4 separate regions of the Homo sapiens genome follow, and regions 1, 3 and 4 are each linked to region 2. The links are contacts of gene promoters, found by promoter capture Hi-C in blood cells and fetal thymus (Javierre and others, 2016). All regions are on one chromosome and are shown on one strand. Each heading gives the region's core, a stretch centred on a gene start or on the middle of the fragment in contact. The rest is flanking DNA. Distances are from core to core; before and after follow the strand shown. Region 1 has its middle 45 kb from the start of RPL39L. Region 2 holds the start of ADIPOQ (adiponectin, C1Q and collagen domain containing). Region 3 overlaps ST6GAL1 (ST6 beta-galactoside alpha-2,6-sialyltransferase 1). Region 4 overlaps ST6GAL1 (ST6 beta-galactoside alpha-2,6-sialyltransferase 1).

The links. Contacts are between HindIII fragments. The CHiCAGO score rates a contact against its expected background, and 5 or more counts as called.
Region 1: a fragment that was not itself captured here is called in contact with the fragment with the promoter of ADIPOQ in region 2 in 14 of 17 cell types (non-activated CD4 T cells, total CD8 T cells, activated CD4 T cells and 11 more); the score reaches 18.7 in non-activated CD4 T cells.
Region 3: a fragment that was not itself captured here is called in contact with the fragment with the promoter of ADIPOQ in region 2 in 10 of 17 cell types (non-activated CD4 T cells, total CD8 T cells, naive CD8 T cells and 7 more); the score reaches 17.4 in non-activated CD4 T cells.
Region 4: a contact is called between a fragment that was not itself captured here and the fragment with the promoter of ADIPOQ in region 2, in 8 of 17 cell types (non-activated CD4 T cells, total CD8 T cells, activated CD4 T cells and 5 more). The highest score is 12.8, in non-activated CD4 T cells.

What each region holds. Positions count from the first base shown.
Region 1 is chr3:187,091,475-187,098,073 of GRCh38, reverse strand. No RefSeq gene overlaps it. Among named protein-coding and RNA genes, the nearest start is that of RPL39L, 45 kb to the left of the region's middle. The HindIII fragment of the contact is 1,776 bases long and covers 2,468-4,243 here.
Region 2 is chr3:186,839,307-186,845,527 of GRCh38, reverse strand. ADIPOQ (adiponectin, C1Q and collagen domain containing) reads right to left here and starts at 2,818. Exons shown (of 3, transcript NM_004797.4): 1 at 2,779-2,818. RefSeq lists enhancers at 1-2,778, 5,361-5,518, a cis regulatory region at 3,367-3,394 and a promoter at 2,796-3,494. The HindIII fragment of the contact is 5,592 bases long and covers 1-3,494 here.
Region 3 is chr3:187,043,929-187,050,345 of GRCh38, reverse strand. The region is part of intron 4 of ST6GAL1 (ST6 beta-galactoside alpha-2,6-sialyltransferase 1); the gene reads right to left. Among named protein-coding and RNA genes, the nearest start is that of RPL39L, 92 kb to the left of the region's middle. RefSeq lists enhancers at 5,703-5,812, 5,923-6,192. The HindIII fragment of the contact is 3,699 bases long and covers 1-3,589 here.
Region 4 is chr3:186,980,765-186,986,893 of GRCh38, reverse strand. The region is part of intron 2 of ST6GAL1 (ST6 beta-galactoside alpha-2,6-sialyltransferase 1); the gene reads right to left. LOC124906314 (a long non-coding RNA gene) reads left to right here. Exons shown (of 3, transcript XR_007096208.1): 3 at 203-3,597. Among named protein-coding and RNA genes, the nearest start is that of ST6GAL1, 53 kb to the right of the region's middle. RefSeq lists an enhancer at 684-813. The HindIII fragment of the contact is 1,869 bases long and covers 1,439-3,307 here.

The DNA of each region.
Region 1 (6,599 bases), core at 2,106-4,605, 250 kb before region 2:
TGATTTGTCTTTTGTATTTTTTATTGTTGTTGTTGTTGTTTCAATTTTGTTTAGTTCCACTTTGATCTTTATTTCTTTTCTTCTCCTGGCTTTGGGTTTAGTTTGATCCTGTTTCTCTTGTTCCCTGAGGTGTAAAATTTGGTTGTCAATTTGTGTTCTTTCAGACTTTTTGATGTAGGCGTTTAATGCTATGAACTTTCCTCTTAGCACTGCTTTTGCTGTATCCCAGAGGTTTTGATAACTTGTGTCGGTTATTATCATTCATTTCAAATAATTTTTAAATTTTCATCTTGATTTCATTATTAACACCAAAATCATTCAAGAGCAGATGATTTAATTTCCATGTATTTTATAGTTTTGAAGGTTCCTTTTGGAGTTGATTTCCAGTTTTATTCTACTGTGGTCTGAGAAGATACTTGACATGATTTCGATTTTCTTATATTTATTGAGACTTGTTTTGTGGCTTATGATACAGTCTATCTTGGAGAATGTTCCATGTTCTGATAAGAAGAATGTATATTCTCCAGTAGTTGAGTAGAATGTTCTGTAAATATCTGTTAAGTCCATTTGTTCTAGCATATAGTTGAAGTCCACTGCTTCTTTGTTAACTTTCTGTCTCAGTGATCTTTCTAGTGCTGTCAGTGGAGTATGGAAATTTCCCACTATTACTGTGTTGCTGTCTATCTCATTTCTTTGATTTAGTAGTGATTGTTTCATAAATCTTGGAACTCTGGTGTTAGGTGCATATAAATTTATGGTTGTAATATCTTCTTGTTGGACTGATCCTTTTATCATTATATAATGTTATTCTTTGTATTTTGTTTGCTTGTGTTTGGCTGTTGTTGCTTTAAAATCTGTTTTGTCTGATATAACAATAGCTACTCTGGCTTACTTTTGGTTTCCATTTGTGTGGAATATCTTTTTCCACTCCTTTACCCTGAGTTTACATGAATTTTTATGTGTTAGGTGAGTCTCTTGAAGACAGAAGATATCTAGTTTATGTTTTTTTTTAATCCATTCTGCCATTCTGTACCTTTTAAGTGGAGCATTTAGGCCATTTACATTCATACATTCATTACATTTTATAGGCCTTATAGTTTTATGCTTTCAGGAAGTTCTATTTTGGTGCATATCAAGCTTTTCTTTCACAATTTAAAACACCTTTTAGCATTTCTTGTAGTGCTGGTTTGGTAGTGGCAAATAACCCCAGCATTTGTTTGTCTGAAAAAGACTTTATTTTGCTCTAATTTATGAAGCTTAGTTTTGCTGGATACGAAACTCTTGACTGACAATTATTGTGTTTAAGGGGTCTAAAGATAGGACACCCAATCTCTTCTAGCTTGTAAGGTTTCTGCTGAGAAGTCTGTTATTAGCCTGATATGTTTTCCTTTATAGGTTACCTGATGCTTTTGTCTCACAGCTCTTAGAATTCTTTCCTTCATATTAACTTTAGATAGCCTGATCACTTTTTGCCTTGGTGATGATCTTTTTGCAATTAATTTCTCAGATGTTCTAGGAGCTTCCTGTACTTGGATATCTAAATCTCTAGCGAGGCCAGGAAACTTTTTCTCAATTATTACTTCAAATACGTTTTCCAAACTTTTATCCTTCTCTGTTCCCTCAGGAACAACAACTCTTCTTAGGTTTGGCCATTTTACGTAGTCCCATATTTCTTGGAGACTTTGTTCTTTTGATTCTTTATCTTTATCTGATTGGGCTAATTCAAAAGCCTTGTCTTCAAGCTCTGAAATTCTTTCTTCTATTGTTCTAGTTCATTGTTGAAACTTTCCACTGTATTTTTATTTCCCTAAGTGTGTCTTTCATTTCCAGATATTCTGATTAGTTTTTCCTTATATCTATCTCTCTGGAAAATTTCTCATCCACATCCTGTATTGATTTTTAAATTTCTTTATGTTGGTTTTCACCTTTCTCCAGTATCTCCTTGAGCAGCTTAATAATAAACCTTCTGAATTCCTTATCTGGTATTTCAAAGATTTCATCTTGCTTTGGATCCAGAGATGGGGAGCTAGTATGATCTTTTCAGGGCATTATAGAACCCCATTTTGTCATATTACCAGAATCTCTTTTCTGGTTCCTTCTCATTTGGGTAGACTATTTCTTGTAATTGTTCTTGAATTTATTTTTGGTTTCATTTTTTTTAATTTCTTTTTTTTTCTCTTAAGGATGTGACTTCAATATTTATAGTTTATTACAGCTGAATTTGGTTCTTGGTGCTTTTATGAGTGAAGATTCTGTAAGAATTCCTTGCTTATAGAGAGTCTTTGTGTGATGGCTGTCTCAGATGCTACTTGTAGTATGTATGTACTTGGTATAGGCAAGTTCATTGTCTCCTGTGGGATTGGAATGGTAGGGGTCTTTTGAAGCTTATCTCATTTCCCTGTGTTGTGCACTCATATTTATTTATTTTTTCTCCATTATTTTATTTACTGAGTTAATGGCTCAAGCTTCAGGACAGTAGGGGTGGAATTGTATCCCTGGGTAGGAACCGGTTGTAGCTAAAGCAAGTGGGTAAATGCAATACCCAATGGTGGGCAGAGATCCCAGCCTTGATTAAGGTTGCTTGGGGAGCTCCCAAATAGATGCACTGAGGTCTTATCAGAGTGAAGGTTGGGAGCTATCTCAGCTCCCCTGCCAGGCCAGCAGAAAAGCTATCCACCTCCCAGCCTCACACCTGTCCCAGTGTTCCAGCTATTCAGATTATACAGGCACTTCTTTTTGTCTGTAGGAATATTGGTGTTTCAAGTAGAGAGAAATTGTGAGTCTGCTTCTTGTGCAAGCCCAAACCTGGGGAATGCTCCTTCTGTGGGGATGCAGTTGCCCTGAAGTGTTCCAGGAAGGCTGTCTGTAGGTGAATCCACACAGAGTTCCCGTGAGAGAAGCCCCAGCTGTGTCTGCAGTGGTGGACAAGTGGGGAAAGAGGACCCTTTCTCTAAGACCTTTCATGAGCACCAAGCCTGTCTGACTGTTGGATAGAGACACAGATGTCCCCTGCTGAGTCCAGTACTGCAATTGTGTCTCTGCTGAAAGAAACTTTCCCACAGGAATGATCTGGGACTCAAGGCCTGTCACCCAGATTATTTTGTCCCACACGGTGTTCCCGTGATGTGGTACTCTCCCCCTTTTCCTAAGAGGAAGACCTCCTGAGAGTCAGACTATAGTGATTGCTATTACAGCCAGAAGTTTTGCTTGACGCCAGAACACAGTTAACAGCCCAGCCCAACTAGAGAACATGCAAGGTCTACCTGTCACCACCTACTGGCCCAACTAGAATCCTAGGCTATACTAAATAGTGAAGATCTGCACAGCCAAAGAATACCAGCAAAGACTGGAAAGTGTTTCTTCAAATGTGTAGGTACCAATGCAAAGACACAAGGATTACAAAAATGAGGGAAGTCTGGGCGCAGTGGCTCATGCCTGTAATCCCAGCACTTTGGGAGGCCAAGGCAGGTGGATTACCTGAGGTCAGGAGTTCAAGACCAGCCTGGCCAACATGGTGAAACTCCATCTCTACTAAAAATACAAAAATTAGCCGGGCATGGTGGTGCGTGCCTGTAATCCCAGCTACTTGGGAGGCTGAGGCAGGAGAATTGCTTGAACCTGGGAGGCAGAGGTAGCAGTGAGCTGAGATCATGCCACCGCACTCCAGCCTGGGCGACAGAGTGAGACTCCATCTAAAAAAAAAAAAAAAAAAAAAAAAATGAGGGAAATGCAACTAATAAAGTTCTAATAGTGGACTCTGAAGAAGTGGAGATTTATGACATGACTGATAAAGAATTCAGAAGTTCAGAGAACCACAAGAAAATACAGATGAAAAATTGAATGAAATTCTGGGAAACAATTCATGTACTAAATGTGAAGTTTGACAAAAATATAAACAATAAAAAACCCAAATAGAAATTATAAAGCTAAAGAATACAATAACTAAATTTCTGAAATTAATAGAAAGTGTCAATAGCAGGTCTTGACCAGCAGAAGAAGAATCAGTGAACCTGAATACAGGACATTTAAATTAGTCAGAGGAATGAAAAGAAAAAAAAGAAAGAAAAACAATGGAAAAGGCCTATGGTAATTATGGGACATTATCAAGAAAACAGATCTACGCATAATAGGAGTTCCCTAGGGAAAAGAAAAAGAAAAAGAACCAGAAAATTTATTTAAGATAATAATGGCTGAAAATTTCCCAAATCTAGGAAAAGATGACAATATCCAGGTACAGGAAGCTTAGAGATCACTTTTCAAATTTAACTCAAAGACAAGTTCACCAAGACACATCACATTCAAATTATCAAAAATTAAAGACAAAGAAAGAATACTGAAAGCAGCAAGAAATAAGAGGCATATCATACTGAACAGAGTCTCAATATAGCTATCAGTGAATTTCTAAGTAGAAACCTTGTAGTCTAGGAGACAGTGGGATGATACATTCAAAGTGCTGAAGGATAATAGACAACTGCCAATCAAGAATACTTTACCCAGCAAAGCTGTCCTTCAGAATAAGGGAGAAATAAAATTTTCCAAATGAAAGCTAAGGGAGTTTACCATCACCACTAGGCCCACTCTACAGGGATTGCTAAAGGGAGTTCTTTTTTTTTTTTTTTTTTTTTTTTTTTCTGAGACAGAGTCTTGCTCCATCACCCGGGCTGGAGTGCAGTGGCACAATCTCAGCTGACTGCAACCTCTGCCTCTAAAGGGAGTTCTTTAAGTGGAAACAAAAGACTACTAACTAATAATACACAACATATAAAATAAAAAACTTAATGGTAGAAGAAATACGTAGTCATATTCAGAATACACCAAAAATGTAAATAAAGGTTATGTGTAAAGCAATTTTATCTCTACTATGAGGGCTAAAATAAAACTACTAAAAATTGTAGCTACAATAGATTGTTAAGGGATACAAATTATAAGAAAAGGAAAATTTTGACATCAAAAGCACAAAAGGTAGGGAGAAGGAGTAAAGTGTAGAGCTTTTGCTTGCAATTATAATTGTTATCAGTTTAAAATAGCCTGTTTTAAGTTTAAGATGTTTTATATAAGTTTTATGGTAACCATAAAGCAAAAAACTATAATAGATGCATAAAATATAAAAATAAAGAATTAAAAACAGACCACCACTGAAAACCTTTAAACCACAAAAGGAGACAGCAAGAGAGGAAGAAAGAAACAGAGAATCTATAAAACAACCAGAAAACAAATTACAAAATGGCAGTAGCAAGTCCTTTACCTGTCACTAATTACTTTGAATGTAAATAAATTTAATTTTCCAATCAAAAGACATTGAGTGGCTGAATGCATAAAAACAATATTCAGGCCAGGCATGGTGGCTCATGTCTATAATCTCAACACTTTGGGAGGCCAAGGCAGGAGGATCACTTGAGCCCAAGGGTTCAAGACCAGCCTGGGCAACATGGTGAGATCTCATTTCTACAAAAAATAAACAAAATTAGCTAGACATGGTGGTGAATGCCTGTAGTCCCAGCTACTTGGAAGGCTGAGGTGGGAGGATTGCTTGAGCCCAGGAGGTCAAGGCTGCAGTGAGCTGAGATTGCACTACTTTACTCCAGCCTGGGCAACAGAGCAAAACTCTGTCTCAAATCAAACAAACAAACAAAATACCAATATTCAATCATATGCTGTCTACAGGAGACTCACCTCACTAGGACACACATAGACTGTACATGAAGGGACTGAAAAAGATATTCCATGCATATGGAAACCAAAAGAGAGCAGGGTTAGCTATACTTATATAAGGAAAAATAGACTGTAATTCAAAACCTATCAAAAGAGATCAAAAAGGCCATTATATAATGATAAAGGAGTCAATTCATCAAGAGGACATAACAATTGTAAATATATTCATCCAACATCAAAGCACCTAAATACATAAAGCAATTATTAAGTGATTTCAAAGAGGAGGTAGACTGCAATGCAATAATAGTACGGGTATTCATTTTTTATAACAGACCATCTAGTTAGAAAATCAACGAGGAAACACTGGACTTGAATTACACTTTAGAACAAATGTACCTAACAGACATATGCAGAACATTGCATCCAACAGAAACAGAATACACTTTCTTCTCAATGGAACATTCTCCAGGACCACGTTAGGCCACAAAACAAATCTTATCAAATTTAAGGCGATTCAAATCATAGCAAGTATCTTTTCCAATCACAATGCCATGAAACTGGAAATCAATAACAAGAGAAATCTCGGGAAATATTGGAAAATTCACAAATGTGGAAATTAGTATGTGGAAATTTTGTGGAATTTTTATGATTTTTATGTGTTTATAAGATTATGTCATCAGTGAAGAGAGAAAATTTCACTTCTTCCTTACCTATTCGATGCCTTTTATTTCTCTCCCTTGCCTGATTACAAGACCAGAGTCACAAAAGAAATAAAAAAGGAACGAAAAATGTACCTTGAGACAAAAATGAAAATATATCATATCAAAACTTACAGCATGCAGCAGAAGCAGTCCTAAGATGAAATTTTATAGCAATAAATACTTATATCAGAAAAAGAAAGATCTCAAATAAACAACCTAATATTACACCTCAAGGAACTAGAAAAA
Region 2 (6,221 bases), core at 1,569-4,068:
TGGTAGCGGGCACCTGTAATTCCAGCTACTTGGGAGGCTGAGGCAGGAGAATCACTTGAATCCATGAGGCAGAGGTTGCAGTGAGCTGAGATCGCGCCACTGCACTCCAGCCTAGGTGACAAGTGTGAAACTCTGTCTCAAAAAAAATAAAAATAAAAATAAATAAAAGTCAAAGTGTAGAATATTGGCAGTTTCACACGGTGCAACCCAATAATAAATGGCATAACCAGGAATCAACTCAGCTTTGCCTAGCTCCCAGGAGCTTTGCCCGAAAGCCTTCACTCAGCCCTGGGAGAGCTGTCAATATCTCCATGCCCAACACACACACATACCCGCACCCATACACACACCTCCACCTATGCACGCGCACACCCACACACCACATCCACACATCCACATACGTACGCACCACCCCCCCCCACACATACACACCCATCCAAATGAGTGTGCGCGCGCGCACACACACACTCACACACATACATACTGTCAAGGAACTAATAAAACAGAGCATCCCACGCACCACCACATTTTTAGGATAAGTCTCTCTCCACATGATTGAATTTCTGATTGAAATTCCTGATTGAAAGTATCTCTCCAAAAGACATCACCTCTTGACTTTAGCCGTATGTCTGGGACCACCGGTCCACTGGCTTGACAAGGAGTAGGTGGAAAGTTTGTCCCTACAGCCACCTTAAAAAGAGCAAGCATATAATCCCAGCCTTTTGGGAGGCTGAGGTGGGAGGACTGCTGAGCCCAGGAGTTTGAGGCCCCCCAGCCAATATAGTGAGACCTCATCTCTACAAAAAATTTTTAAAAATTAGCCAGGCATGGTTGCACACACCTGTAGTCCCAGCTACTCAGGAGGCTAAGATGGGAGGGTCACTTGAGCCTGGGAAATCGAGGCTGCAGTGAGCTGTGATTGCACCACTGCACTCCAGCCTGGGTGATAGAGTGAGACCCTGTCCCCAAAAAAGACAAGGAGCCAGTCTTGTGTCTATTTTTTTTTTTTTTTTTTTGAGATGGAGTTTTGCTTTTTTTGCCCAGGCTGGAGTGCAATGCTGTGATCTCAGCTTAAGACTCCTCGGCCAGGCGCAGTGGCTCACACCTGTAATACCAGCACTTTGGGAGGCCGAGGCAGGTGGAATATGAGGTCAAGAGATCGAGACCATCCTGGCCAATATGGTGAACCCCATCTCTACTAAAAATATAAAAATTAGCTGGGCGTGGTGGCGCATGCCTGTAGTCTCAGCTACTTGGGAGACTGAGGCAGGAGAATCGCTTGAACCTGGGAGGCGGAGGTTGCAGTGAGCTGAGATTGTGCCAAAAAAAGACTCCTCAAGACTTAAGGAAGAGTGGCAGCAGGGACTGCTGAGGAAGCTGCCGGGCTCCCTGTGTACCACTGGCCTTCATGAACAAAGCTGACACCATCATGCTCCTTCGGACATATTCTGCTAGCATAAAGGGACCCCCATCTCCCCAACCGAATTAGGCAGAGCTGGCCTTCCTTCTAGCGGAGTTCCTAGGAGTGAGTTGGTGCCACCCCTTGTGAGGCTTGATCCAAAAACCAGAACCTCTCCAGACCAGGGATCCATGTCCTCTAACACAAGAGGGGCAGACCTAACCTCTAAAATCCCTCCCACTCTAACCTTCAGCATCCACAGCTCAAAACAACCAGGATGCCTCAGAAACAGCACTCACTGGGGCGAGCAGGATTAGGCTTCAGAAAAACCAGGTAGATCCAGTTTCTTCTGTCAGAAAATGTTTTTTTTTAATTACAATTTTTCATAAGTTGCCACTATATGCCAGGCTTTTCTCATTTTATCTCATTAGAGCCTCTTTTTCTTTTCTTTCTTTTTTTTTTTTTTTTGACACAAAGTCTCGCTCTGTCACCCAGGCTGGAATGCAGTGGCAACAATCTCGGCTCACTGCAACCTCTGCCTCCCAGGTTCAGACAATTCTCCTGCCTCAGCCTCCCGAGAAGCTGGGATTACAGGCACCTGCCATCACGCCCAACTAATTTTTGTATTTTTGGTAGAGGCGGGGTTTCACCATGTTGGTCAGGCTAGTCTGGAACTCCTGACCTCAGGTGATCCACCCGCCTCGGTCTCCCAAATTGCTGGGATTACAGGTGTGAGCCACCATGGCTGGCCTCATTAGAACCTCTTGATTACCTTGTAAGATATCCCTATACCTACATATATCCCCAAATCCATAGACAACAACCATGTCACACTCATTGTATCTTGTGAACCCAATCCACTGTCTAGCCCATAGAATTTGCTCAGTAAATATTTGCTGAGTAGAATAAAGTGGCAGAGCTGGATTCCTAATTCCAGTCTGAAGTCAGTGCTCAGCTTGACTTTTCTGAAGCTGCCTTCATATATGCTTCTTCCTTTGCCCTACCTGGTCAAGCTAAGAGGCAATGTATTCCCTTATCCCCCTTAATCGAATTGGACTTCATCTGTGGACAGACCCTTCCACCTTACTGACCCTAACTTTTTCTCAATAGGTATCCTGCTACAGAGCGAACTGGGCAAAATTCAGAATGGTTCCATGCATCTTAGAAGGAATGTCTGAAATAACCCTTTCTCTCTTGGGGCTGTGGGAGAACGGAGGAAGAAGCCCAGTGCATATCTGCCTCCACCAGTGCTGCTCTGACCAGAGTATCCACCTGTATCCACTCCCACACTACTACGGACGGGAGAGCCTGGGTGATCCCAGCCAGAGGCTATGCATGCATCCCCCACCCAGCCTGGAACTTCACAGAATTGCTCTTACCCTCTGGTATGGAATCAGAACCACAGACTGCAGTCAGAATGGAAGTGAGGAGGAGATGGCCCAGCCTCAACAGCCTGGTACTCACGGGGGCAGGCAGTCCCCACCTCACAATTGTCATTTCCCATTGGCCAACTCAGTGAGGGCCAGAGGCCGGTGGGCAGGCACATGTCCCTGGCAGTTGCCCACAGCCTGCACCCTAGGGAACCTGGTACAACCCAGCTTGGGCTTCGGAAGCCAAGTGGAGCTTCAGTCAAAGCACTTGTGTTTCCAGGCCTTGACCCTTATTTTGCCTCCTACAACAGCAACAGAAGATGGGGCAAAAGTCAAAACCACAGCAGGAAAACAAGATTTTTTTCCTGCATCTGACGGAGAAACTTCCTAATGTAAATGAATTAATTGCTCAGTGGTCCAGGAGGTCTCCCCCTCCCATAGATTTGCCCTAATAAGTCAGGGACGCCAATTATCACACCACAGTCTTGCTCACTGTGCATGATTAAGTCTGAGACTGTGTACGTTCAGACAGTGAGTGCTTCAGAAGGGAGCACTGTCAGAGGGGTCTGCAATCAGGTAAGAAATAGAGCACATCCTCCACTCTCTGACCTGGACCCTGGATTTAGGAAAGACCTTGCACATGAATTCTGAGAACTGGGGTGTGGGGAAGTTCCTGGAGTGGTGTGGGGCTTGGCAAGTTAAAAAGGCCCTGAATTCTTAAAGCTTGTGGCCTCGAATCGTAATTTGAATCTAATATAATAGAAAACTTACATAAAATGTGATATTGGAATACCATCTTTCAAGATTTTTTGGTTCCAAAATTTCGGATAACATTTTGACAGCTACCTTGGTATGTGTGTGTGTGTGTTTGTGAGAGAGAGAGAGCCTGTTTTTCCAGTTCCTTAAGCATATATATGCCTATTCTGTCTCTTGTGGAACCCAGCTCTGGCCTAGAAGCAGCCTGGAGAACTGGAAGCTGCCACCCACTTAGGTGTTCCTAGAAAGTTTAGGCTTGAAGTGGCAACATTCAACACCTTGGACTTTCTTGGCACGCTCATGTTTTGTTTTTGAAGGGCAGGATCTGAGCCGGTTCTTGCAAGCCACACATTCTGATGAATTAAATTACGACCCCAGCAAGGGCTTAGGATGCCAGCACCAACTTCAACAAGACATCCAAAACAGAATTTTCTCAGACAGAGGCAGGGCAAGTGTCTGCCTGCCCCCCAGATATCATCTCCACAGTCCACACAGAGCCTAAAAATCTACCAGTAAAGTCAAGTCCACCATTAAAGTAAAGATCTGATGTAAAGCCTCAGCTTCCTGCTAATGTCCAAATATTTCAAGAGAAGTCACATTAGGCCGTTGAGATGAGAGACATGAGAGACTTTCCAAGGTCCCCCGGCTTAAATAAGTGGCCCATGAAAATGAGGTTCCATATAGTTTAGCAGGCTGATTGAACCAAGAAGACAACAAAAAGAAATAGAAGCAACTCTCAATTATATCACTGTTTGATTTTTGTTATGGTGTTTTCCTATTTATTTTTGGTTTATGTTACTGTCTGTTGCTATTTAATAGAACATAAACTTCAGGTCAGGTGCAGTGGCTCAGGCCTGTAATCCCAGTACTTTGGAAGGCCAAGACAGGCATATCACCTGAGATCAGGAGTTTGAGACCAGTCTGGCCAACATGGTGAAACCCCATCTCTACTAAAAATGCAGAAATAGCCGGGCGTGGTGGCACATACCTGTAGTCCCAGCTACTTGGGAGGCTGAGACAAGAGAATCACTTGAACCCAGGAGGTGGAGGTTGCAGTGAGCCAAGAGCACCATTGCGCTCTAGCCTGGGTGACAAGAGTGAAACTCTGTCTCAAAAAAAAAAAAAAAAGTAAACTTCAGGAGAGCAGAGATTTTGCCTATTCAAAGTTGTATCCCTTAGTTCCTAGAATAGAACCTGGCACAAAGTAGGCAATAATAAATGTTGAATTAATGAATAAATGAATGATCATATTCAACTTTCCTTTGGAGATAACTATTATTGTCTTTCATTTTACAAATAATGAATCTAGAGTTCAATGAGGGTAAATAATTTGTTCAAGGCACAAGTCTAGGATTTGAACCAGATCTGTCTAACTAAAAATCCCTATGCTTTCTAATTCCTCATGCCCTTCACCCCTCTTGATGGAGTGTGAGGCCTCAAGGTTGATGTATGTGCTTCAGGGTAGTTTCAGGGCTGGCATAAAAAGTATTTTCTTTGGCCGGGCACAGTAGCTCATGCCTGTAATCCCAGCATTTTGGGAGGCTGAGGCGGGCAGATCACTTGAGGTCAGGAGTCTGAGACCAGCCTGACGAAGATGGTGAAACCCCGTCTCCACTAAAAATACAAAAAAGTTAGCCGGGCGTGGTGGCAGGCACCTGCAATCCCAGCTACTCGGGGGTCTGAGGGAGGAGAATCGTTTGAACCCAGGAGGCGGAGGTTGCAGCGAGCCGAGATCGCACCATTGCACTCCAGCCTGGGCAACAGAGCGAGAATCCATCTCAAAAAAAAAAAAGTATTTTCTTCTAACTTTATAAGAATGCAGCTGGTTAGAGAAAGCTGTAGCTATTGCACAAGGTGGAATAACTTTAGCCCCACAATCACACCAAGACTGTGCTGGGCCTGGCTGTCAGTCAGTGACATTGTGAAAGCCTAGCATTTTGCGAGGCCTCAGGGCAATCTGCCACCCACCACAAAGGCCGTCATGTGGAAAGAGCCAGTTCTGTGGCATACTGGTTTAAAGACTGTAATTGAAAAACATTCAATCAGAAATGCCTTGAGGCTAGTCTTTTTCCCAGGACAGAACTATTACTACTTAGACCGAAATAACCAAATAAATGCGATCATTTCCTCCAGGGTACCGTAGCTACAGGTCAAGCCCCTGTTAGCATGTGAGTTGGGATACTGAAACAGGCCAAATCACTTAATTTATCTTAAATATGTTTAAGCATGGCCATATATTTTTGCTTAATTATGATTTTTAAAAATAATCTTAACTGAAGTAACCAAGCATAAGCACTGTATTTTGAAAAATAAAGATTGGAGCAAGATGGTAGAGTGAGCACGCCCTGCAGCAATGTACGCCATCCCCAAACCCCTAGAAATGGCAAGAAAGGAGAACATTTCTTTATCTTTTTTTCTTTTTTTTTTTTTTTGAGATGGAGTTTCACTCTTGTTGCCCAGGCTGGAGTACTATGGCATGATCTCAGTTCACCGCAACCTCTGCCTCTCAGGTTCAAGCGATTATCCTGCCTTAGCCTCCCGAGTAGCTGGGATTATGGGCATGTGCCACCACGCCCCGCTAATTTTGTATTTTTAGTAGAGACAGGGTTTCCCCATGTTGGTCAGGCTGGTCTCGAACTCCCGACCTCAGGTGATCCACCCCCTCGGCCTCCCAAAGTGCTGGAATGACAGGCGTG
Region 3 (6,417 bases), core at 491-2,990, 210 kb before region 2:
TAAGGAGCCATCCAAATCCTGTGATCCTATGAGAACTTCTTTCAATCTTACTCGGTCAAGCAAGTTTGGGGCTCACCACTGAAATCTACACGGGATCTGGGGGTCAGCTGAATCCTCTATTGTCCTATTCAGGTTTGTTTTGGATCATTCTTTATCCACACAGGATTTGGGGAAGTGAGGGCATTTGACTGAACACAAGATGATTTAGAAAGAGGATATCCACAGAATTAAGGATGAAAGCCTCTCTCTTTATTTCAGTTCCAATGTATGTACTAAACCTCAGGAACACAGAAACATCATTCATGAAAACAACACAACCCTATCCTCAATCCTAGGGCAAAATTTCATCAAAATGGTTTGAAAATTATCTGAGAAGGGCACAGTCCAAACTGTTATCATCTTACAGGGCAGGTACACTGAAGTGCACATAGGGCAGGAGGTATATCTTTACACAACTCAGAATTACAACACATTTTGTCAGAATCAGTCACTGGTTCGAAAGGGATTAGTAGTAATTGCATGAGAAACACAGATCCATCAGAAACTTCAGTTAGTCAACTTTTCCATTTCACAGATGAATAAATTATTGGTGAGAATCCCAGTAGAAAAGAGATGAGAAGCTCCAATGGAGTAATTGAGAGATTCATAAAAGGACTACTTACCAAGTTGGGGTAGAGTTTAAAGAAATCAACACGGAATAGGCTAAAGCCCCAGGGTTGATGACTGCAGGGTGTCATTACCACCCCAGGTCTACTGTGGCCTGATGAGCGGAGACCCTGAGCTGAGGAGGGACACCTGTCGGGAGCTGTTGCCTTTAGGAGAGGAACACAGCTATTGCCAACCTCCGGGCAAGAAGGAGCCTGAGGGAGTCAATATCCCAACCTGGTTCTGCCCCTTCCCTTGGATCTCATAGAACTGAAGGGAAAAGGGACAGAGCAGGACCAAGACTGGGACGGCCTCCTGGCAGGATCTGAGACCTTCAGTCAAGAGAAAGATACAGCTTGAGTTTACTCTGCAAGGCGAAACATGGCGGAATAGGTGCCCTGACCTTAGTCTTCTTCTCAGCTTTAATGCCACTGCTTCTCCTGGCCAGTCCCAGAGAAAATCCAGAGAGTGAGAAATGCCAATTAACGCAGTTCAAAATTTTAATTTCTCAGCTGGGCGCAGTAGCTCACGCCTGTAATCCCAGTACTTTGGGAGGCCGAGGCGGGTGGATCACCTGAAGTCAGGAGTTCGACATCAGCCTGACCAACATGGTGAAACCCCATCTCTACTAAATATACAAAAATTAGCTGGGCGTGGTGGCACGCACCTGTAATCCTAGCTACTCTGGAGGCTGAGGCAGGAGAATCGCTTGAACCCAGGAGGCGGGGGTTAGCGTGAGCCGAGATTGTGCCACTGCACTCCAGCCTGGGCAACAGAACAAGACTCATTCTCAAAAAAAAAAAAAAAAAAAAAAAAAAAATTCAATTTCTCAGGGACAGAGCCAGATGGAAAAGGGTGAGAGTGGGATTTGGAGGTGCCACTGGAGAACATCCAGCACAGAAGGCTTAGGTTAGAACAGATGCTTGATGTTGACCATAAGAAAGGAGAATTGTTTTGTTCAGTCAACAAATACTGATTGAGCACCTACTCTATGCCAGGCACAGTTTTAGACACGGGAGACGACGCCTGTGAGCAACAAAGACAAGGTCCATGCCCTCAGAGATATTACATTCTACTGCACGGACATAGACAGTAAAGACGGACAACAACCTACATATAAGATAATTTCGGATTGTGACAAACACTGTGACACTAACAAGCTGAGCTGTGTGCCAGAGACACTGAGGGAATTTCCTTCATAGAGTGATGATTCAGGGAATGCCTTGGAGCTGAGACCCAAAGGATGGCCAGCCTTGGGAAGGGTTCAGAGAAGTCCACCAGTCAGAGGATGCAGCAAGTGTCAGGACCACAATGAGGGCAGGGACTTGACTGTAGACAAGGAGTGAGGGGAAGAAAAATCAAAGATACAGTTACAGAGGTTGGCAGGAACCAGATCATACACGGACATGGGGGCCCAGGTATGAAGTTTGGACGTGATTCTAAGAAAAAAGCCAATCAGGCTGGGCACGGTGGCTCACACCTGTAATCCCAGCACTTTGGGAGGCCAAGGTGGGCAGATCACGAGGTCAGGAGATCGAGACCATCCTGGCTAACACAGTGAAACCTCGTCTCTACTAAAAATACAAAAAAATTAGCCGAGTATGGTGGCAGGCGCCTGTAATCCCAGCTACTCGGGAGGCTGAGGTAGGAGAATGGTGTGAACCCAGGAGGTGGAGCTTGCAGTGAGCCAAGATCACGCCACTGCACTCCAGCCTGGGCAACAGAGCAAGACTCTGTCTCAAAAAAAAAAAAAAGAAAGGAAAAGAAAAAAGCCAATCAAAGGAGAAAACTTTTTTGAGGAGATGGATATTCTAATTACCCAATCTGATCATTGCGCATTGTATGCATGTACCAAAATATCACATGTACCCCATAAATATGTACAATTATTATATATCAAATTTTTAAAAAGAAAACTTTAAACTGACTTGGGTACTTAAAGAGAAAAAAATCCTGTTTGTCAAACCTCCCTGCTAATTGAAAGTTGAACTTTCAAACTCAAATAGGCCTCTAAGAAATCACCAAGAGAAATCCACAACTACTGAGATCCCAGCAAACAAGCCTAGCGAGGGGGAAAGGCTGCAGAAAAAAGAAACTACCACCTCTCTGTAACTTAGAATTAGAGCTCAGAAAAAGAGGCAAATTAGGAGAAGAAAAAATAAATGCATCACTGTATTCAGATTATACAATCACACGCTTAGAAAATTCAACAGAATCAGCTCAAGTTAGTAAATTCATAAATACATCAAAATCCACTGCCTCTAGGTGTAGTTAACTCTAAATAGCTAGAAATTATTATGAAAGAAATTTTATCACAATTTATCACCAAACGCTTTTATATTTTCAAGTTAGCCTAATACATCCTACAACCATTTATGGAAAATTACATTCTGAGTCCGGTTGAAGAAAACAGACATACTATAGATCAGAGTTAAAAAAAAAAAAAACTATGACTTGGCCGGGCGCGGTGGCTCACACCTGTAATCCCAGCACTTTGGGAGGCCGAGGTGGGCGGATCATGAGATCAGGAGATCGAGACCATCCTGGCTAACACGGTGAAACCCTGTCTCTACTAAAAATACAAAAAATTAGCCAGGCGTGGTGGCAGGCACCTGTAGTCCCAGCTACTCGGGAGGCTGAGGCAGGAGAATGGCATGAACCTGGGAGGCGGAGCTTGCAGTGAGCCGAGATCATGCCACTGCACTCCAGCCTGGGCAACAGAGCAAGACTCCGTCAAAAACAAAACAAAACACTATGACTTGAAGGACAAATCTGGTGCATCCCTCATTTTGTAAATAAAGTTTTGTTGGAACATAGCCAGGCCTGTTCATTTACTACTATCTATTGTTACTTCTGCAGTACAACAGCAGAGTTGAGTAGTTGTGACAGACATCATGGCCCTCAAAGCCAAAACTATTTACTATCCGGCCTTTTAAGAAAAGCTTGCTGACCCCTGATATAACTGATCATGTTCTCCAAGCTACTCAGTTCACAGGTGTCTTCTCAGTCCTTATTCTGCCCAAGAATATGTCCCACCTCTGCAGACTTTGATACCAACAGCCAACATCCCTCAAACTCCATCCCCCTTTGCCTTCCATTGTATGGTGCACACCTAGTTCTCCTCTAGCCGGTCTCTGACCCTTCTGACTTTTCCCTGTTCTTTTCTTTGTCCTTTAAATGTAAATCTTTTTCTAGATTTTCTAATTGGTCTTCTTCCCTGGATTATAACCATTATCTCACCTTGATACAAATGACTTGTAAATCTATCTCGATATCTGATCCTTCTCTAGAATTAAGTACTCAACAGCATAGATATCTACCCAGGGAAATCCACACACACTTCAGTCTCAGAACATCCAAAGTGGAATCTGCGTTCCTCTGGAAGCATGCTCCCCTTGGTAAGATACAGCCTGCTCCCAGGCTAGACATCCTGGCTCCTGCCTCTCACTCAAGATCATTTCCAGCTAGATAGTAAGTTCTGCCTCTTACTTCATGAGCCCTCTCAGGTAAGGTCCTTTCTCTTCATCACTGCTACCACAGCCTGGGCAGGCCTGGCACTTCTGACCTGGTTGTGGCAATAGTCCCTAATAATGGAGACATTATAGAGTACAAAACAGGGACTCATAGAGAAGTGAGAAGTCTCCCTTGTTCAAAAACCTCCTAGGGCTCTCCATGGCTTAAAGAATGAAACCTAAAGTCCTTATTGTGACTATCAACGTTCTCTAAGAGCTAATGCCTAGCTACCTTTCTGGCCTCGTTCCTCACCCATCTTCACCCACAAGGACCCACATGCCGTCCAAACAGGATTATTTGTGATGCCCAAACACACTTTTCCCCGTGCAGCCTTTGCTTCTTGCCTTTGCCTTAACTCAGAATACCCTTCTCTTTCTCTCTAGGACAGCTAATAGACAAGAATAGAAGAAAATTTTTAACATAATAAAAGAATAATCACACCGAATTTTATTATGAAGCTACAATTATTATGAGGCACAACAGCAGAGGTGCCAAGAGTGGGGTCTTTGAAGCAAGCACTCTGCTTTCAAACCTCAGTCTGCTATTAGCCAGTTGTGTGACCACTTGAGCCTCCGCATTTAGCTCTCCAGCAAAATGAGACCAATAATCTTATCAACCTCACAGGACTTCTGGGAGGATGAAAAGAGCAAGGCATGTTAGGAACTCAGCAGATGCATAATAAGCATCACTTGTATTGATGATAGTGTTTTAAAATTATGCTACTGTTTGACATGAAAATTCCAGCAAATCTAGGATACTTAACATGTATGAGTAAACTATCAAAAATAATTGAAAATGACTGAGCCCACCATTGGCTGGTTTGTGAGACTGCTGGAGGCAGAGTATGTTATTACACTCTCTCTGATAGAAAATCTTGCTATGGACAAAAAAAAAAAAGTCATAAAATGTCTCTTACTCGTGTCTTCTAGCCTCACTTCTGAGGATATTTCCCTGTTGAATGTCAATAGTGGTTACCTAAGTTATCTGCACAAAAACCTTGTCAGCAATGTTATTTGTAAAAGAAAACCATTTGAAATAATCTGATCCATCCAGTAGTTGGGAAGAGACTCAACAAATTCCAGATGCAGGAGGAAGTGTATGGGCCTGGCACGCTGCCTGCAACTCGGGCTTCAACAAAGGGCCTTTCCCTTCCCTTTCCCCTTTGTATTGTTGATGAATCCATGAATAAATAAAAGAATATATGAATGTCTTAAAATATTTGTTAGACAAAATGCCAAGAGGATATATACCCCATAACAGCAGAACATTCGAAGTCTAACATGCAATTTTGATTACATCTCAGGATCAAAGTCCTTCTGTGGAAATCCTTATTTTGAAGTTGAAACTGCAATCTATAGAAAAATATTATTTGTATTAATGTTTACTTAAATCACCCCAAATCTTTAAGGAGTGCATAAAATTAAAGCTGTAGTTCTAATTAACAGAGCTATCAGGCCCTGTCTCAAACTTCAGTACAATTTCAGCCAGGCACGCAATATTAACTTGACATGAAGAAGAAGGATCAGCTAATACCTAGGATATCCCAAACATTTGCTACATAAGCAGCAAAAATGGAGAAGAAAGAAACTTAGCTCCATTATGGATGAACAAAAACCAATCACATTTAGTTTCTTGAAAACAAAGTCCAAGAAAAACCAAAAATACAAAAGCAGAAGTTGAGGTGGGGCCGGCCAGCGGGGCAGCTGCCTATTTGGGGAGGTAGAAACTGTGATCTCACCATTTCTTTCTGCTCTAGAGAATCCAGTTTGGGCCTACTTTTCTTTGAGAGCCTGTGCTGGGTTTCAGACCATTTTTCCTGGCAGTCAAATGAAGGAAATAAAAAAGGAGACGTATGACCTCACCTGCTCCAGTACCTCCAGGCTGACAGAGGAGCAAAGCTTCCTGTGCTTTGCTTTCTTTAGCTGATTCATTTCAAATAATGGAAAACACATTCAGCATAAGAGAAATAAGGCTCTCTGTTACACAGGTTTACAAATATAGACAGACTTTCTATCTTGATTCACTACAAAGGGTTTCAAGAAAAGCAAATTAATATGTTGTGACCAGTGACTCTGAAACTTTTTTGGGTCACAGATCCCTTAGAGAATAAACTGCAGTCTACAAACTCCCTTCCTGGAAAAATGCACGGACACACTTATACGCATACACATACATTCTACACACCTAATCCACAGACAGTTTTGCACGCAATTGCAGGGATTCATGACCCTCTGAAGTTGGTCCATAGCCCCCAGTTAA
Region 4 (6,129 bases), core at 1,124-3,623, 140 kb before region 2:
CTTTCTATAAAATCCAAAGGAAATGACCTTAGATCATTTAAATTCAAGTTTCAGAGAGGTGGCTCGACTTGCTATAAGATGCATCTGATTTGACATCAGGTTCTTCTGATCGCAAGTCTGGGGTCTTTCCGCCTCATTTGGCCAACTCTCTTGTCCCCTTGCTTCCCCAGACTCACCGTGATATTCCTTTACCTCCATCCAGAACTCAGATAACGTGTCACTCTAGTCACCCTGAAGATTTGCCTCTTGAAAACATAATCGCCGTGCAGTAAAGAGGAGACCAAAATAGAACCACATACAGCTGCCGAAAAGTGCTGAAGAATATGGCGCTAAGGAGAGAAAGACACCACTAGCCAAAGGCAAGTGGATCAAAAAGCAACCCCCTACATTGGACATTCTTGTTATTTTGTTGTGGTGGTGGTGGTGGTGGTGGTGGTCATTGTTGCTGTTGTTGATACAGGGACCTGTCTAAATTCTATAGTATTTAATACTGTATTCAACAAATATTTACTGTTGAATATTTATTGAATACAATATTCAACACTATGTGCCAGGCATGATAGAGGCCTGGACTGAGTAGCGACTCTTTGGTATGAACCAGATATAACTTGCACGATGTTTCACAAGCTGGTTTGGATGTTATTAGCTTAGTGTGTCATTTACCCCATCCCTACTCACACCCGAAACATGATATTTTGTGGAGCTAAAAAAAAATACCTCAAACAAATCACTTCCTCAAACGGCAACCTAATCTCTGCTTCCTTATGGCGGGGTCTCTTGACTTGCTTACACTTCCCCACTTTCTACTGGTTCCTCAAATAACTGAAGTCGGTTCACATCATTCCACTGAAACTGCCTTTCTAATTGCAAAATCTAAAGAGTCCTTTCCAATACTTATTTCAAACAGGCGTCTCTGGGTCTTTTTCAAACTCCCTCCCACTAATGCCTTTCAGGCATCCTCCCCAGCTTAGCCTCCCCTGGGACCAGCTTCCTGCCAGTCCTGAAATGCCCACATACACGGGGAAGATTCCTGCTTCCACATGACCAGCCCCCAGTGACATCTCCCTCAGACTCCAGACCTCGTCTTTTTTTCTTTTTCTTTTTTCTTTTTTTTTTTTTGAGACAGGGTCTCACTCTGCCACCCAGGCTGGAGCGCAGTGGCGCAATCTCGGCTCACTGCAACGTCCACCTCTGAGGCTCAAGCAATCGTCCCTCCTCAGCTTCCTGAGTAGCTGGGACTATAGGCATGCTCCACCAGGACCAGCTAATTTTTTTTTTTTTTTTTTACTTTTTGAAGAGACGGGGTTTCGCCATGTTTCCCAGGCTAATCTCGAACTTCTGAGCTCAAGATGCACCCACCTTGACTTCCCAAAGTGCTGGGAGTGCCTAGCCTCAGATCATATCCTTTCAAAAACTTTTAGAGACCTGCACAAAAGCTTTATATTCTACGCTTACTCACTTTAAAAAAAAATGTATTAAACATTTGCTAAGTGCTAAGTATAATTCTTAGTGCATAGGATACTACAGTGAATAACCCAGATGAAGATCAACACCCTTAGAGTTTTACATACTAGCAGAGGGAGACACTAAGAGCCGTAAATATAACAAATTAAAAAAATTATTTGGTATCTTAAAAGATGCTAAGTGCTTAGAGAACAAAGTAGAGTACAAGAAAGGGGGGATAGGGCCAGGCTCAGTGGCTCACGTCTGCAATCCCAACACTTTGGGAGGCTGAGGTGGGCGGATCACTTGAGGTCAGGAGTTCGAGACCAGCCTGACCAACAAGGTGAAACCCTATCTCTACTAAAAATACAAAAATTAGCCATGTGTCATGGTGGGCACCTGTAATCCCAGCTGCTCAGGAGGCTGAGGCAGGAGAATCACTTGAATCCAGGAGGTGGAGGTTGCAGTGAGCCGAGAACGTGCCACTGCACTTCAGCCTGGGTGACAGAGCGAGACCCTATCTCAGAAAGAAAGAAAAGAGAGAGACAGAGAAAGAGAGAAAGAAAGGACGGAAGGAAGGACGGAAGGAAGGAAGGAAGGAAGGAGGGAGGGAGGGAGGGAGGGAAGGAAGGAAGGAAGGAAGGATGGAAGGAAGGAAGGAAGGGAGGAAGGGAAGGAAGGAAGGAGGGAGGGAGGGAGGGAGGGAGGGAAGGAAGGAAGGAAGGGAGGAAGGGAAGGAAAGAAAGGGGAGATCGGAAGTACTGGGTTGAGGTAGGTTTCCATTTTCCAAAGGGCAGTCAGAGGAGAACTCACTGAGAAGGGGACATTTGAACAAAGAGTTGCAGATAGTGGAGGAATGAGTCCCACAATATCTGGGGAAGCGTGTTTGCGGCAAGGCTCAAGGCAGGAGTGCACTGGTGTGCACTGGTTGGAAGGAAAGGATCAAGGAAGAGGGTACATGGAGACGGGGTCCGGGAGGAACAAACAACGATGTCGGGGAGGTGGAGGAGTCTGGGCAGGGCCTTTGAGGTCTTGGCAAGAACTCTGGCTTTTAGCAAATAAAATAGGAGCTGCTGCAGGAGGCTGAGCAGAGGAACAACCAGATCTGACTTAATATGCCAGAATTGCTCAGGCTGCCATGTGGGAACAGGAATAGGGGGCAGGGATAGTAGTAAGGAGACAGCAGCAGTCCCAGTGAGCGATGCTCATGGCTTAGACCAGCTGGTTGCAGTGGAGGCAGAGAAGTGGGTATATTTTAGACGTGCTTTGAAAATCATGCCCGATATTTTAGATGTGAGTGTGAGAGAGAGAAGAGTCAAGGATGATTCCAAGGGTTGGAGCCCAAGCAACTAGACGGATGGTGCTACTTTAATGGAAAAAGAGGAGACAAAGGAAGAGCAGACCTGGGGGCAGAGGAAATCTGGAGTTCAGCTTTGGATATTCTGAGTTTGAGATGAGACTGTCAAACAGAGCGTAAAGTAGGAAGCCTGATAGGAAAGTCTAGAGGTCAGGGAGAAGGTGTGAGCTGGAGATCCATATTTGGGAGTTATCAGCATGAGAGCTTTTCGGATGTTCTTGATCAGCTAGTGGAATTTTTCTCCACCCAGCTGCATGACTGTTTACTCTGGAGCAAGGATTCCTGGGCGTAAACCTAACTCCTCCACTCCTCAAAGGTCTGATCTTGGACAGGCTACTCAACTGCTCTCAGTGTCTGTATCCCCAAAAGTGCCTACTTCTTTTATTATGAGGAAAAAATGAGGCAATTCGTGTTAATTACCTTGCACATAGTAATAAGCACTCCCTATATAATAACCATTATAATCCCCTCCCTTCCTCTCTCCACCTCTTACTACCTTGCTAAGCTTGGTATCTTCAACTTCCCTTTTTTCTCACCTCATATTCAACTCATCCCTCACCCTGAGTGCCCCTGGATCACTGTCCACGCCAGTGCCTCACTGCCCCTAGAGCAATCCTATAAACAGTGTTGATTCCAACTGAATAGGTCGCAAGCTTCTATTTTCTACTCTCAGAATATTTCTTAAATCTGCCTCCCTCTCTTTGTTTTCTCATTATTTCCCATCTGAGTTCCCAATAAGTTTTACTTAAATCTCAATTATATTCTAATCAAATTAAAATGTCATTTTAATGTGCCTACATGTCTGTCTTCCCTTAAAACCGTAAGCATTTCAACTGCCAAGTAATAATTATCACTGTATCCCTAGCACCTTTATGTCCAGTGCCCAAACCGTGGTAACTATCCAGTAAATATTTGGTGAATGAATGGAAACATTTTATTGGCTAATTATTACCTGCTAGACACTCTGTGAAATTAAAATACAACCATCACTACCATATAAACTACAATTCCTGCCCACAAAGAGTTTTGAGAGACAAACTTAGCGTACCTGAGACAGAAAACAAAGCAGCCAAATAAATGTAATTAGATTACTATTAAAAAGAGAGAATTGGGGCTGGGCGCGGTGGCTCATGCCTGTAATCCCAGCACTTCGGGAGGACGAGGTGGCTGGATCACCTGAGGTCAGGAGTTCAAGACCAGCCTGGCCAAAATGGTGAAACCCCGTCTCTACTAAAAATAAAAAAATTAGCTGGGCATGGTGGCGGGCGACTGTAATCCCAGCTACTTGGGAGGCTGAAGCAGGAGAAACACTTGAACCCGGGTAGCGGAGATTGCAGTGAGCCGAGATCACACCATTGCACTGCAGCCTGGGCAACAAGAGCGAAACTCCTTCTCGAAGAAATAAGACAGAGAGAATTACACACAGACACTTTTCAATTTACGATGTGATGCCATTATATCTGGATAAACCCATCCTAGTTAAACTTAGGGTATGTTCCCTTTGGTCTCAAGCTCAAGGTTGATTAAATGATACACGGTACATGCTCCCTTCCTCTCACTTCCTGTACTCAGTTGTCATCGCTCCTCAAAAGTAGTCAAATTCCTGGCCCTCAATATCTTTGCCATACTGCCCCATAGTTGAAGATACATATTCCCCCTAACTGTCTGCCATGATTCTTGGCATTACTGGGTCTTCACTGAGAGTCACGAGCAACCAACAATCTATCTTACTAAGAAATGACTTGACTAAGGTCATGCTTATCCACATGGAAAAAGGTTAGGAATGATGTGATGTTAGATGGGAATGTAGGGATCTGCCACCCTTTGATGCAATTTGTACATAGCTTTGCTCTGTATCACCAGTCAGGGTAACCAATCTCTAAATTTCTTCCTCACCAAAAAAGGAAGGACTTCCTATTATTCTAATGAGGCAAAATGGTATAAGCATAATAAGTGTTCATTTGTGAGCTACACAGACCTAGGTTTGAAGTCCAACTCCACTGCTAACCTAGGGAAATCTAGTTGAATTTTCTAGGCCCGTTTATTCATTTGTGAAACAATACCAGTGTGACCTGTATCATAGCGTGACTGCTATCATAGAGTTGTTAGGAGAATTAAATGAGAAAATAGATGTAAAGCACCCAGCACACAATCACTGTGCACAGTGGCAGCTATTATTATGGATTCTAACTCCCAGATAATCATGGGTCTTAGTAAAGGAGGTATTCAAGGGTGGTCATTCAGAGGGTTTCCTTCAGCTTTAAGCAGTGTTTTATAAAGTGCTCTTAGTCTGTAAGAAAGCTTCTGCTGAGTTTTGTCATCAAAGCTGAGGTTGGAAATAGGTCAATGGACCAGGATAAGGGTTGAGTCTTTCTCCCAGCTCTGATGGAACAATATTTCCTGACTGCCTTCAGTAATTTATATGCCCAAAAATGGACCTTGAGAATTCAAAAATAAGATAAGACTTGGAATGCTAATAAGAGATAACAAGACATCATCAGTCTCCCTGAGGAAAATGAAGTGCCTTAGTGTATTGGTGGCATGACAGCGGATCTAGATGCTCTGAAGCTACAGAGAAGACTTCATGCAGGTTACCCACGGTACAAGGCAGTAGTGATGGCCCTCAAATATCTGCTGTCTTCTACCTCTGCCATCCCTCTGTTAAAGCAAATAAGAAGGAGGCCGTTAGCCTGAGGTTGTCTCCATAACCAGAGCTTCTACATAAGCAAACCAAAATCCAAATCAATGTAAACAGTAAAATGTAACTAGAGGCTTCACCAATCAGAAACCACCAACTAACCTCTAACTAGGGTCTTCCCACTCTAATAAAATATATTTTCTTAGCCTTCTTTCCACGTTCAGCCTACAAAAGCTCACTGTCCTCACTGCGGCAGCAGAGCTCTCTGAACCTCTTCTGGTTCTGAGTGCTGTCCAATTCACACATGGTTCTTTGCTCAGATGAACTTTGCTACATTTATTTTCTCTAAAGTTTTTCTTTTAACACCTCCTGCCTTCTTCCTTGCTTTGCATAGCTGCTCTACTCCACCTCTTCTAGAATATTAACACACCCAAAGCCCTCCTCAGTGCACAAATGTCCTCTGCAGCTGCATGTATACAGCAGACACTGACTGAGGAATGGGTCCCTGAAGAACAGCTCAGCCATCACACCCAACACGTGATGGCACTGATTGCTTGACCACTAGTGACAGGGACCTATAAAGGCACACATCCCACTTGCAGATAGTTTTGAGTTTAGAGTATTAGAGTATAGATTCATTGATCCAGAATCTATTTCCCCTTGACTTCTATCTTTTTTTTTTTTTTTTTGA